2 separate regions of the Homo sapiens genome follow, and region 1 is linked to region 2. Evidence: promoter capture Hi-C in 16 types of primary human blood cells and fetal thymus (Javierre and others, 2016). All regions are on one chromosome and are shown on one strand. Each heading gives the region's core, a stretch centred on a gene start or on the middle of the fragment in contact. The rest is flanking DNA. Distances are from core to core; before and after follow the strand shown.

Region 1 (5,936 bases), core at 642-3,141, 280 kb after region 2:
CTAAAAGGGAACTGTGCGCCTTAGACCTGGAATTGCTGGGAAACTGAAACATTCTGTAGACTTACTTGTTTCCAACTGTATCGCAGCAAGAAGTCTATGTGCCCCAGGATCCTGGATTACCTGAGGAAGAAGAGATCAAGGAAAAAAAACCCACCAGTCAAGGAAAGTCAAGTAGCAAGAAGGAAATGTCTAAAAGAGATGGCAAGGAGAAAAAAGACAGAGGAGTGACGAGGGTAAGAGGAATTGTTAATTTGCTGTCTTTTGCCACATAGTTATTAAAATGTTGGAGGTACGAACAGAGGATATCTATGTTTGCAAGTGTAAAGTAACTTTAAAAATACTCTGTCAGCCGGGCGTGGTGGCTAACGCCTGTAATCCCAGCACTTTGGGAGGCCAAGGCGGGCGGATCATGAGGTCAGGAGATCGAGACCATCCTGGCCAACATGGTGAAACCCCTGTCTCTACTAAAAATACAAAAATTAGCTGCGTGTGGTGGTACACGCCTGTAGTCCCAGCTACTCAGGAGGCTGAGGCAGGAGAATTGCTTGAACCCTGGAGGCAGAGGTTGCAGTGAGCCGAGATCGCGCCACTACACTCCAGCCTGGCAACAGAGCAAGACTCTGTATCAAAAAAAAAAAAAAAACCTCTGTTAATGAGTATTTTTACCTGGTGTAGGCAATTCCCTCACCTCTTATATCCCAACTCTCTCTTTTACAAATGGGAAAACTATGGATGGTAGAACAAAGTGGCCCAGCTCAAATCCCAACACCTCAGCTCCATACATTTTCACTTTTCTACATTCCTTTTTTAGTGTTTGACTTTATACACATTTCTCTAGTTGTAATTATAGCAGGAGATACTGTTTAGTCACTTTTTATCCTAAGTATTTTTTCCATGTTTCTATATACTCTATTATTTTTAATGCCCACATGGTAAAAATTCACGGTATAACTGTACCTTCATTTTCTTCATCTCTCCTACATTATTTGTCTTCTCTTTCTAATCTTTTCTTTTTCCTTTTTTTTTTTTTTTTTCTGAGACAAAGTCTTCCTCTGTCTCCCAGGTTGGAGTGCAGTGGCATGATCATAGCTCACTTCTACGTCAAACCCATGGGCTTAAGCAGTCCTCCCACCTCAGCCTCCCAAGTAGCGGGGACTACAGGCATGAGCCACCATGACCAGCTAATTTTTGCTTTTTTGTAGAGACAGGATCTTGCTAGATTGACCAGGCTGATCTCGAACTTCTGGCCTCAAGTAAGCTTCCTGTCTCAGTCTCCCAAAGTGCTTCAGTTACAGGCAAGACCCACCTTGCTCGCCTCTTTCTAATCTTATACTGTCATAATATATAACATTTAGCATTTTGTTTCTTCTTTTAAATTACTCCCTATGACACATTTTCAGAATCAGAGATGATGAACATTTTTACATCTAATACAAAATCAAATTATTAGGCAGGGTGCAGTGGCTCACACCTGTAATCCCAGCACGTTGGGAGGCCAAGACAGGTGGATGCCTGAGTTTAGGAGTTTGACACCAGCAACATGGTGAAACTCCATCTCTACCAAAAATACAAAAAAAATTAGCCTACTGTGGTGATGCATGCCTGTAGTCCAAGCTACTTGGGAGACTGAGTTAAGAGGATCGCTTGAGCCCAGGAGATTGCAGTGAGCTGTGATTGCGCCACTGCACTCCAGCATGGACAACAGAGCCAGACTTGTCTCAAAAAAAAAAAAAAAAGAAAATCTGCCGGGCATGGTGGCTCATGCCTGTAATCCCAGCACTTTGAGAGGCCAAGGCAGGCGGATTACTTTAGGTCAGGAGTTTGAGACCGCCTAGCCAATATGGTGAAACCCCCATCTCTACTAAAAAGACAAAAATTAGCTGGACGTGGTGGCGCAAGCCTGTAGTCCCAGCTACTCAGGAGGCTGAGGCAGGAGAATCTCTTGAACCTGAGAGGCAGAGGTTGCAGTGAGCCAAGATCACACCTACCTTGATATCAGTTATGCATTAGTGAAAATGGATGAATTTGCTTGTGATTCAATTCATAACACCTTTTTTTCCCTTTTTTTTCTTTTGAGACGGAGCCGCTCTGTCGCCCAGGCTGGAGTGCAGTGGCGTGATCTATCTCGGCTCACTGCAACCTCCGCCTTCCAGGCTCAAGGGATTCTCCTGCCTCAGCCTCCTGAGTAGCTGGGATATCAGGCGCTGCCACAACGCCCAGCTAATTTTTGTATTTTTAGTAGAGACGCGGTTTCACCATGTTGGTCAAGCTGGTCTCGAACTCCTGACCTTGTGATCCGCCCACCTCAGCCTACCAAAGTGCTGGGATTACAGGCATGAGCCACTGCGCCCAGCCTTTTTTTCCCCTTCTAACACTGTTAGTTGTTTAGAGATACAGAAAAGAGGAGAGAGAGTGTGTGTGTGTGTTTAAAAACTTAGAGTCATACTGATTTAATATTTGGACTCTGCTTCAGCCACTTAATCTGTCAAACTATATTCCCAATCATTTGTAAAATTAAGATAGTAAAGCTTACATAGGAGGATCATAGTAAAGTCTGAAGAAGACAATGTTTATATATACATGCCTCATCTGGTCTGACATACAGTAATCATGCAATATATACTAACGTTTTATTTTATTTTATTTTATTTTTTGAGACAGAGTCTCTCTCTGTCACCCAGGCTGGAATGGAGTGGCACGATCTCGGCTCACTGCAACCTCTGCCTCCCAGGTTCCAGCAGTTCTTCTACCTCAGCCTCCCAAGTAGCTGGGATTACAGGCCAAAACCACCACACCCAGCTAATTTTTGTATTTTTACTAGAGACGGGGTTTCACCATGTTGGCCAGGCTGGAGCACAGTGGCACAATCTTGGCTCACTGCAAGCTCCGCCTCTCGGGTTCATTCTCCTGCCTCAGCCTCCCTACTAACTGGGACTACAGGTGCCCGCCACCACGCCCAGCTAATTTTTTGTATTTTTAGTAGAGATGGAGTTTCACTGCATTAGCCAGGGTGGTCTCGATCTCCTGACGTTGTGATCCACCTGCCTTGACCTCCCAGAGTGCTGGGATTATAGGCGTGAGCCACCGCACCCAGCCCAGCCTTTATCAGTTATTATGAGTGAATATCATGTGAGAGTTACCTCTGGTTTGATCAGTTTCAGGAAAATGCCAGTGAAGGGAAGGCCCCTGCAGAAGACGTCTTTAAGAAGCCCCTGCCTCCTACTGTGAAGAAGGAAGAGAGTCCCCCTCCAGTAAGACCAACATTGATCCCCTGGACCTAGGGCTGGGGCTGGGGATGGTTCCGAGTAGAAGAGGAAGCGCAAAGGCTGATGCCTTCCTCTGGTGTTGGTCTTTTACCTCACTATGTCTCCCGAATAAGGATTCCCATTTCTTTTGAGTACAAGCATGAGATAAAGTTTTCTGTCTGCTAATGGGGGTATTACTGGAGAACCAGAGGCAGTTATCTGGACTCTTTCTCTCTGCCCTGTGCCATTCTTACCAGACGAGATGCCTAGCCCTTTTTATCATCTTGTTCTTGTCAGTTCTCTAAATCACCAAGGAAACCCGTTTTCTCAGCCTCAATCTTTCCTGCCTTTTGGCATCACACAAGAATCTCTTAGATATGGAGTGCATGCGTGGTCATTTTTTTATAGTTTCTGCCTGTTCAGAGTGAATGATGCTAATATTGGTGCCCATTTTTTAGATGCCTTCAAGCAGTAGTCTCAACCTAATCACCAGTGATTCTGATTGAATGCAGGTATATAACAATAGTGACCATGCATTATTTATTTATTTTGAGTGATCATAGACCAATGATTATGCATCATTATTTAACAGTTCTTATAAGGTACCCTTTTCCTGCTCCGCATTATTAATTCAGCTCATTGTGGCATCTGTCTTAACCATGCTTTGCCTTTACCTTACATGTGAGCTGGATCTGTCTACCCAAGTGCCTATTAATGCAGTTGCTTTTAGTTTACTTCCTAAATCCTCTTTGCTAGAGTCTTAATGAAAGTCATCTTTTCTTCCCTCCATGAGTTACAGTAATTTGGAGGTATTTATCTCTTCCTCTTTGTAATTTGTAACCTTTTACTATTTTCTATGTTTATTTTCCTTTCTCTTCCTTCTCCTCACATTCTGTTGCTAGAGTCACTTCTAAAGGAATCTTTCTTGTTTATTCTTAATGAACAAGGAGCAAAGCCAAGCTCTGGCCATGTTGCTTTCATCTGGGAAATGAGCAGCATGGCTAGTGAGTTTATTTTGAACCCAATTCAATGAAATGAGATGCCCATATCAGAATATCAAAAAAAATGGACCCCAAAATATAGGTTGAATTTGGTATTGATCCCTGGCCTTCTCCTTCCAGCCTAAAGTGGTAAACCCACTGATCGGCCTCTTGGGTGAATATGGAGGAGACAGTGACTATGAGGAGGAAGAAGAGGAGGAACAGACCCCTCCCCCACAGCCCCGCACAGCACAGCCCCAGAAGCGAGAGGAGCAAACCAAGAAGGAGAATGAAGAAGACAAACTCACTGACTGGAATAAACTGGCTTGTCTGCTTTGCAGAAGGCAGTTTCCCAATAAAGAAGTTCTGATCAAACACCAGCAGCTGTCAGACCTGCACAAGGTATTAGGGGAAGGAGCTATGCCCTTTCAAACTGTTGACTCTTGGCCGGGCTTTGTGGCTCATGCCTGTAATCCTAGCACTTTGGGAGGCCGAGGCGGGTGGATTGCCTGGGCTCAGAAGTACAAGACCAGTCTGGGCAACATGGTGAAACCCCCTTTGTACTAAAATACAAAAAATTAGCCAGGTGTGGTGTTGTGTGCCTGTAGTCCCAGCCACTCGGGAGGCTGAGGCAGGAGAATTGCTAGAACCTGGGAGGCAGAGGTTGCAGTGAGCCGAGATCGTGCCACTGCACTCCAGCCTGGGTAACAGAGCAAGACTCCATCTCTTAAAAAACAAAACAAAACAAAACTGTTGACTCATATTATTGATGGGGATTATGGGGAATAAAAAAGATTATTTAGGCCGGGCCTAGTGGTTTACACCTGTAATCCCAGCACTTTGGGAGGCCAAGGCACCTAGGTAGATCACTTGAGATCAGGAGTTTGAGACCAGCTTGGCCAACATGGTGAAACTGTCTCTACTAAAAATACAAAAATTACCTGGATGTGGTGGCGCATGCCTGTAATCCCAACTACTTGGGAGGTTGAGGCAGGAGAATCGCTTGAACCTGGGAGGCAAAGGTTGCAGTGAACCGAGATCACACCACTGCACTCCAGCCTGGGTGACAGACCAAGACTCTATCTCAAAAAAAAAAAAAAAAAAAAAAAAAAGCCGCAGCAGCTTATACAATCCTTCCTCAGTGTATATCAGCCCCAGTTCCTATCATTAAAACAGTCCAATTCAAGAATGAATTGCTCTGGATTAAGGTTATGCCTACCCTCAAAGAACTTCCATGTATAGGCCGAAGCCAAGCATTATGACTGTGGCTAGGGTGCCAAATATGGAGGATGGGTAGGAAGAGAAAGGGTTGTGGAATAGGACATTACTTGCTGGGTTTCTCATCTTAGCTGTGTCATTAACGTTACAGTTGGACCTCAGATAAGCCCCTTTTCTTCTTTGGTCCTTGTAACTTCATCTGATTCTATCCAGCTCTGACAGTGTGCAGTTTTCACCATAGGTGAGTCAAATTCTGCCATTTCTTCATGTAGTGAATATTGTTATGAGCCACAGCACAACATCTATACTTGGGATGTTAAACCGACATACATTGGTCTTCCCCTGTAGTATTCCCATTTATATGAACTGACCAAGGATCCAAATTATGGACAAATAAAGTCCCTAAATGGACTCACATTCTCAGAGCAATTTGTTTCACACCCCTTCTCTAGTAGATGTTGCAAGAGCAGGTGATGGAACTAGATTCAGACTT
Region 2 (6,303 bases), core at 2,026-4,525:
GCAAATGACAGCCAGTGTGGTGTCTCACCCCTGTAATCCCAGGCCAAGGCTGAGGCAGGTGGATCACCTGTCAGGAGTGACCAGCCTGGCCAACATGGTGAAACCCTGTCTCAGAAAAAAAAAAAAAGCAGGGGCTTGGGACAATTTTGAAAAGCTAATATTTTTGCTGGGTGCAGTAGCTCTCGCCTGTAATCCCAGCACTTTGGGAGGCCGAGGTAGACGGATCATGAGGTCAGGAGATCGAGACCATCCTGGCTAACACGGTGAAACCCCGTCTCTCCTAAAAATACAAAAAAATTGGCCGGGCATGGTGGCAGGTGCCTATAGTCCCAGCTATTTGGGAAGCTGAGGCAGGAGAATGGCGTGAACCCAGGAGGTGGAGCTTGCAGTAAGCCAAGACCATGCCACTGCACTCCAGCCAGCGCAACCGAGCGAGATTCCGTCTCAAAAAAAAAAAAAAAGAAAGAAAGAAAAGCTAATATTTTAATATCCCCCTCCTTTCAAGAACTGCCCAAGGAACTGGTCTTACCAAGATTATAATGAACTAAAGATTCAAAAAATGGCCCTGAAGGACAATGAAATAAATAACTAAAGACTACTCAACTTCTCCCTTGCCTCACAAGTGCAGTATAAACTCAGTCGAACAGCAACAAGCTGCCAGCGTCCTCTGGGTTCAGCACCTGCTTTCCTAAAGGATCTCCTGACCAAGGAGCTGGTTTCTTTCAAAATTATTATTTTATTTATTATTTATTTATTTATTTATTTTTGGAGACTGAGTCTCACTCTGTCACCCAGGCTGGAGTGCAGTGGCGCGATCTCAGCTCACTGCAACCTCCGCTTTCCGGGTTCAGGTGATTCTCCTGCCTCAGCCTCCATGCACCACCACGCCCAGCTAATTTTTGTATTTTTAGTAGACATGGGATTTTGCCATTTTGGATAGGCTAATCTCTTAACTACTGACCTCAGGTGATCCGCCCGCCTCAGCCTCCCAAAGTGCTGGGATTACAGACATGAGCTACCGCACCTGGCCTCTTTCAAAATTATACATTCAGAGGTGACAAGATCCTGATAGAAGTGCACAAAGTAGGCTAGGCGCGTGACCAGGCACAGTGGCTCACGCCTGTAATCCCAGCACTTTGGGAGGCCAAGGCAGGCGGATCAGGAGGTCAGGAGTTCGAGATCAGCCTGAACAACATGGTGAAACCAGGTCTCTACTAAAAATACAGAAATTAGCCGGGCATGGTGGCACGCACCTGTAATCCCAGCTACTTGGGAGGCTGGGGCAGGAGACTTGCTTGAACCCAGGAGGCAGAGGTTGCAGTCAGCTGAGATTGTGCCATTGCACTCCAGCCTGGGTGAGAGAACGAGACTTCGTCTCAGAAAAAAAAAAAAAAAGTAGGCTTGGCGCGGTGGCTCATGCCTGTAATCCCAACAATTTGGGAGGCGGAGGCGGGTTGATCATGAGGTCAGGAGTTCGAGACCAGTCTGGCCAACATAGTGAAACCCCGTCTCTACTAAAAATACAAAAATTAGCCAGGTGTGGTGGCACGTGCCTGTAGTCCCAGCTACTCGGGAGGCTGAGGCAGGAAAATTGCTTGAACCAGGGAGTCAGAGGTTGCAGTGAGCCGAGATGGCACCACTGTACTCCAGCCTGGCAACGGAGCAAGACTCCATCTCAAAAAAACAAAACAAAACAAAACAAAACAAAAAGTGCACAAAGTATTGTCGCTTGACTTCTTAGTCATCTCATGCAGGCATATTCTATGACCACATACAAGAAGACTGTACAAAGAACCAAAGAGGCCACAGGTCAAGAGAAATGTGTTTTGGAGCAATGAGAACTCTTCCTAGACCTGCACACTCTACTGAGGATCTCCAACTTGCCCAAATTCACAGGAAAGGGGCTTGAAGGTGTTTTCACTGAGCAAGATAATTTTAGTACTGTTAAAAGTTAATTTGCGCCGGGCATAGTGGCTCACACTTGTAACCCCAGCACTTTGGGAGGCCAAGGGGGGTGGATCACGAGGTCAGGAGTTCGAGACCAGCCTGGCCAACATGGTGAAACCCCGTCTCTATTAAAAATACAAAAATTAGCCGGGCATGGTGGCGCGTGTCTGTAGTCCTACCTACTCGGGAGGCTGAGGCAGGATAATCGCTTGAACCCGGGAGGTGGAGGCTGTGGTGAGCCGAGATCGCGCCACTGCACTCCGGCCTGGGCAACAGAGCGAGAGACTCTGTCTCAAAAGAAAAAAAAGAAAAAAAACAGTTAATTTGCCAGTTCCATATCATCCACAACAAAAACAAGTTTCTTTTTCCGATTCTAAGACACTCCTACGTTTCCTTTGTCTCCTATGGCGAGCATCCCTTTAGGAGATAAAATCAAGTCATCACCATAATACTCACTTTCTCCTAAAGCAAAAAGAGGAAGACATTACCACTCTCCAAAAAGTGGTGGTGAAGAACCAAAGAAATTATGTTCCAAAATAAAACTCAGCCATTATGGACATTTAACCAGGTTCTTTGCGAGGAAAACGGTGAGCTTCGAGGTACACGTGAGGTTCCGAACGGGTCTCAGGAAGCAGCAGCCAGGCAGAGGGTCCCCCTTGCCATAATCATAGGGCCGTGACACCGGCCTGCCTGGCTCGCGGGGGCTTTGGCTTGCTTCGTCTAGTCTTAGCATCCAGCGTCCTGAAAATCACTCGCAGGAACGCTATCTAAGAAAGAGGTAAGTCTATTTCTCAGCCAGGAGCAACATAACTCCCAGGAGAGCATCAGGGTGGCACCGGACACACTTTAGCGCTCCGGATCAGCGGAGTCCAGAGCTTCGGTCAGAGAAGCTGGTTTCCCGCTACTAGCCGGCCAACCCTCAGGCACTGGCGCTCTCCGTCCTCCACACCGGCTGTCCCCCCGGCTTCGGTGCCAGCATCTGGGAGGCTCGGCGGGCGGCCGGTCAGGACGCTCGAGCGATGTTCCAGTGATGGCCCCACCGGAGCCCCGACCCCACACGCGCCCACTCCAACCCCGCGCCCGCCACCGCCCTCCCCGCGGGCGTCAGGCCGGTCTATCGGCCCGGCTCCTGTCACTCACCTGCCCGGCCCGGGCACCGAGCGCCCACGGCTCCCTACGGGAGCTGGGCCCCCCGGGCCTCCAGGTTTCGGCCCGCCCCCTGGCAGGCAGCACAGGTGGCTGAGCACCGCTACAGCGGCCTCTCACCGGCCGCTTGGTCCAGCTCCCGGCGCTGCCCACTGGGTACGGATCAACAACAAGATGGCGGCTAGCCGAGGGGGCGGGGGCCGGGCGTCATAGTAACCAGGACTGCAAAGAACCCGCCCCCGAGGGGGTGCTATCCCCAATCAACAGTCTTTTTGCTCGTCGCCAGGGGAAGTGCTTCCTGCTGACAGGTCAGCTCACGTGTCAGTCAGAGTCTGCCTCTCAGGGCCTCTGCCGAAAGCGTGGGGCACGTGACTGTGACGGCATGGGTTGGCGCATGCGCTTCGTTCCCGGAGTGGCTGGCGGCGGAGTTTTCGCTGGCTACTACGAGGCCGGAGCGCCCTTGGCCTCTCTGCGTCCCTGGCCCTCGTGCGGTACCGGCGGCGTCTTGTCATACACTTGCGCACACACAGGGAATCTCAGCGGTGTGCTATTCGTTTTTTTGTCCCCCACTCTGGGAGAAGGGGGGTGCAGCCCCCAGTTCACTCTGGAGAGGAAACTGAGGCTCAGAGAGGGGAGGCCGAGCCAAGGTCACGCCACCTCTAGAAATGGAGGTGCTGGGTCTCGCACCTCCTCCTGCTGGTTTCAGAGTGTGAGGAGCCTCTATCCCAGCTTCCCACGCTTTGTCCCTTACTAGCCTCGAGGTACCGCAGTCTGTGCTGCCACAGCAGCCTCTGGCTCATTGCCCATGCTTTCCTGCCTGAGGTTTAGAGCCTAGCACAAGTCCTGACACACAGCGGGCACTCCCTTTTCTCTTCCCTAGAGCATCTTGTCTTGAGATCCTGTGACAGCATCTTTTGCCCTGGACTGTCATGACCGGCCTCCCAAGCAGACTAATGGTCCCAGGAAGATGGTCACACCTTGCTCCCCATACAGAACACCTAACTCTGGGCTTGGCTTCAGGCTTAGAACAACAGATGAAGTTACGTGGCCTGGGCCCACACCCAAATGCCCCAACTAGCTAACTCTGACTTTTGAGCCTTAGCCTCTCTTTAGCTTTGGTTGTCCCATCTGTAAAATGAAGATAAAAGTGGAGCTTCTCAGAGGAAGATTTAATGAGCCCTCAGAGCAGGGGAAGAACTCAGGAAAAATCTGCCTACAACCACTTCCTGGAACAACCTGCTTCCAAGTTGCTGTTCCTGAGGCGTGCCTTAAAACACTAACTTTGGTGGAAGCCCCATGAAGCGTTTTTGTTTTGCTTTGTTTTGTTCCCACAGAAGGCTTTCAGCTTCTTCCTGGCCCTGGGATACCATAACTGGTTCAGAAGGGGAGGTCCTCCTAGCTAGGCGCAGTGGCTCATGCCTGTAATCCAGCACTTTGGGAGGCCAAAGAAGGTGGATCACTTGAGGTCAGAGGTTCGAGACCAGCCTGGCCAAAATGGTGAAACCCTGTCCCTACTAAAAATACAAAAATTAGCTGGACGTGATGGCAGGTGCCTGTAATCCCAGCTACTCAGGAGGTTGAGGCAGGAGGATCACTTGAACCTGGGAGGCAGAGGTTCAGTGAGCTGAGATCACGCCACCACACTCTAGCCTGGGTGACAGAGCAAAATTCTGTCTCAAAAAAAAAAAAGGGAGGTTCTCCAGTACCCTGAGGGGGTTCAGGCCCACAGACTCAACAGACGAGTAAAGACTGTGATAACTTGGATTTACCACAGTAAGGTCCTCTTGGAGAGCTGGCAGAAGCCTGAGACCTGATGTCAGGTTGGGCATGGAGAGTGGGCCAACACTGCATCCAGCAAGACCTGCCCACCAGCAGATTGCTGCAGGCCACTTGGCTACATGCAATAGCTCAGGTCAACACAGGGAGATGTGAGAGCAGAGGAACCAGAAGAAACAGATCAGGAAGAAAAGCCAACAACCCTCAAAAGGGGGATTCTGCTAATCCTCCAGGACCAGCCATGCCACAGGATTCTCAAGTCTGCATCACCCCTCACCGCAGTGCAAAAGCTCCAGATCCTTCCCAAGAAAACCTCCACATACAGTTGGCAAATTGCCCTGAAGTTTGATGGGACCCTCAAAAAGCAACAGTGGTATAACTACTGTGGATAACAGTTCGGAGGTTCCTCAGAAAACTAAAAATACAGCTACCACATGATCCAGCAATCCCACTGCTGGGTATGTACCCAAAGGAAAGGAAATCAGTATATCAAAAAGATATCTGCACTTCCATGTTTGCTGCAGTGCCATTCACAATAGCCAAGATTTGGAAGCAACCTAAGTGTCCATCAACAGGTGAATGGATAAAGAAAATATGGTACATATGGGCCGGGTGCGGTGGCTCACGCCTGTAATCCCAGCACTTTGGGAGGCCGAGGCGGGCGGATCATGAGGTCAGGAGATGGAGACCATCCTGGCTAACACGGTGAAACCCCATCTCTACTAAAAATACAAAAAATTAGCCGGGCGTGGTGGCAAGCGCCTGTAGTCCCAGCTACTCAGGAGGCTGAGGCAGGAGAATGGCGTGAACCCAGAAGGCGGAACTTGCAGTGAGCCGAGATCACGCCACTGTGCTCCAGCCTGGGCAACAGAGCGAGACTCCATCTCAAAAAAAAAAAAAAGAAAAGAAAATATGGTACATATGCAGAATGGAATATTATTCAGCCATTAAAAAGAATGAGATTGTGAGATTGGCTGGTGCGGAGGCTCATGCCTGTAATCCCAGCACTTTGGGAGGCTGAGGCAGGAGGATCACCTGAGGTCAGGAGTTCAAGACCAGCCTGGCCAACATAGGAAAACTCCATCTCTACTAAAAATAAAAAATAAAAAAATTAGCCGGCATGGTGGTGCACACCTGTGGTCCCAGCTACTCAGGAGACTGAGGCACGAGAATTGCTTGATCATGAGAGGCGGAGGTTGCAGTGAGCCAAGATCGTGCCACTGTACTCCAGCCTGGGTGACAAAGTAAGACTACATCTCAAAAAAAAAAAAAAGGAAAAAGATTTAAACAAAACAATTGAATTCATGGAGATAGTGAGTAGAAGGATAGTTACCAGAGTCTGGAAGGGGTGGGGAGGTGGGACGGTTAATGGGTACCAAAAAAAAAGAAAAATGAATAAGACCTAGTGTTTGATAGCACAACAGAGTGACTGTA

Evidence for each region. The method cuts DNA at HindIII sites, captures the fragments that hold promoters and counts their contacts. A CHiCAGO score of 5 or more calls a contact.
Region 1: a fragment that was not itself captured here is called in contact with the fragment with the promoter of IP6K1 in region 2 in 1 of 17 cell types (endothelial precursors); the score reaches 6.5 in endothelial precursors.

What each region holds. Positions count from the first base shown.
Region 1 is chr3:50,061,876-50,067,811 of GRCh38, forward strand. It overlaps RBM6 (RNA binding motif protein 6), which reads left to right. Exons shown (of 21, transcript NM_005777.3): 15 at 87-233; 16 at 3,156-3,251; 17 at 4,367-4,627. Among named protein-coding and RNA genes, the nearest start is that of RBM5, 24 kb to the right of the region's middle. The HindIII fragment of the contact is 1,270 bases long and covers 1,257-2,526 here.
Region 2 is chr3:49,783,267-49,789,569 of GRCh38, forward strand. IP6K1 (inositol hexakisphosphate kinase 1) reads right to left here and starts at 3,276. Exons shown (of 6, transcript NM_153273.4): 1 at 3,088-3,276. RefSeq lists silencers at 2,890-3,239, 3,975-4,139, 4,920-5,129 and enhancers at 2,954-3,643, 3,730-3,799. The HindIII fragment of the contact is 18,469 bases long and covers 1-6,303 here.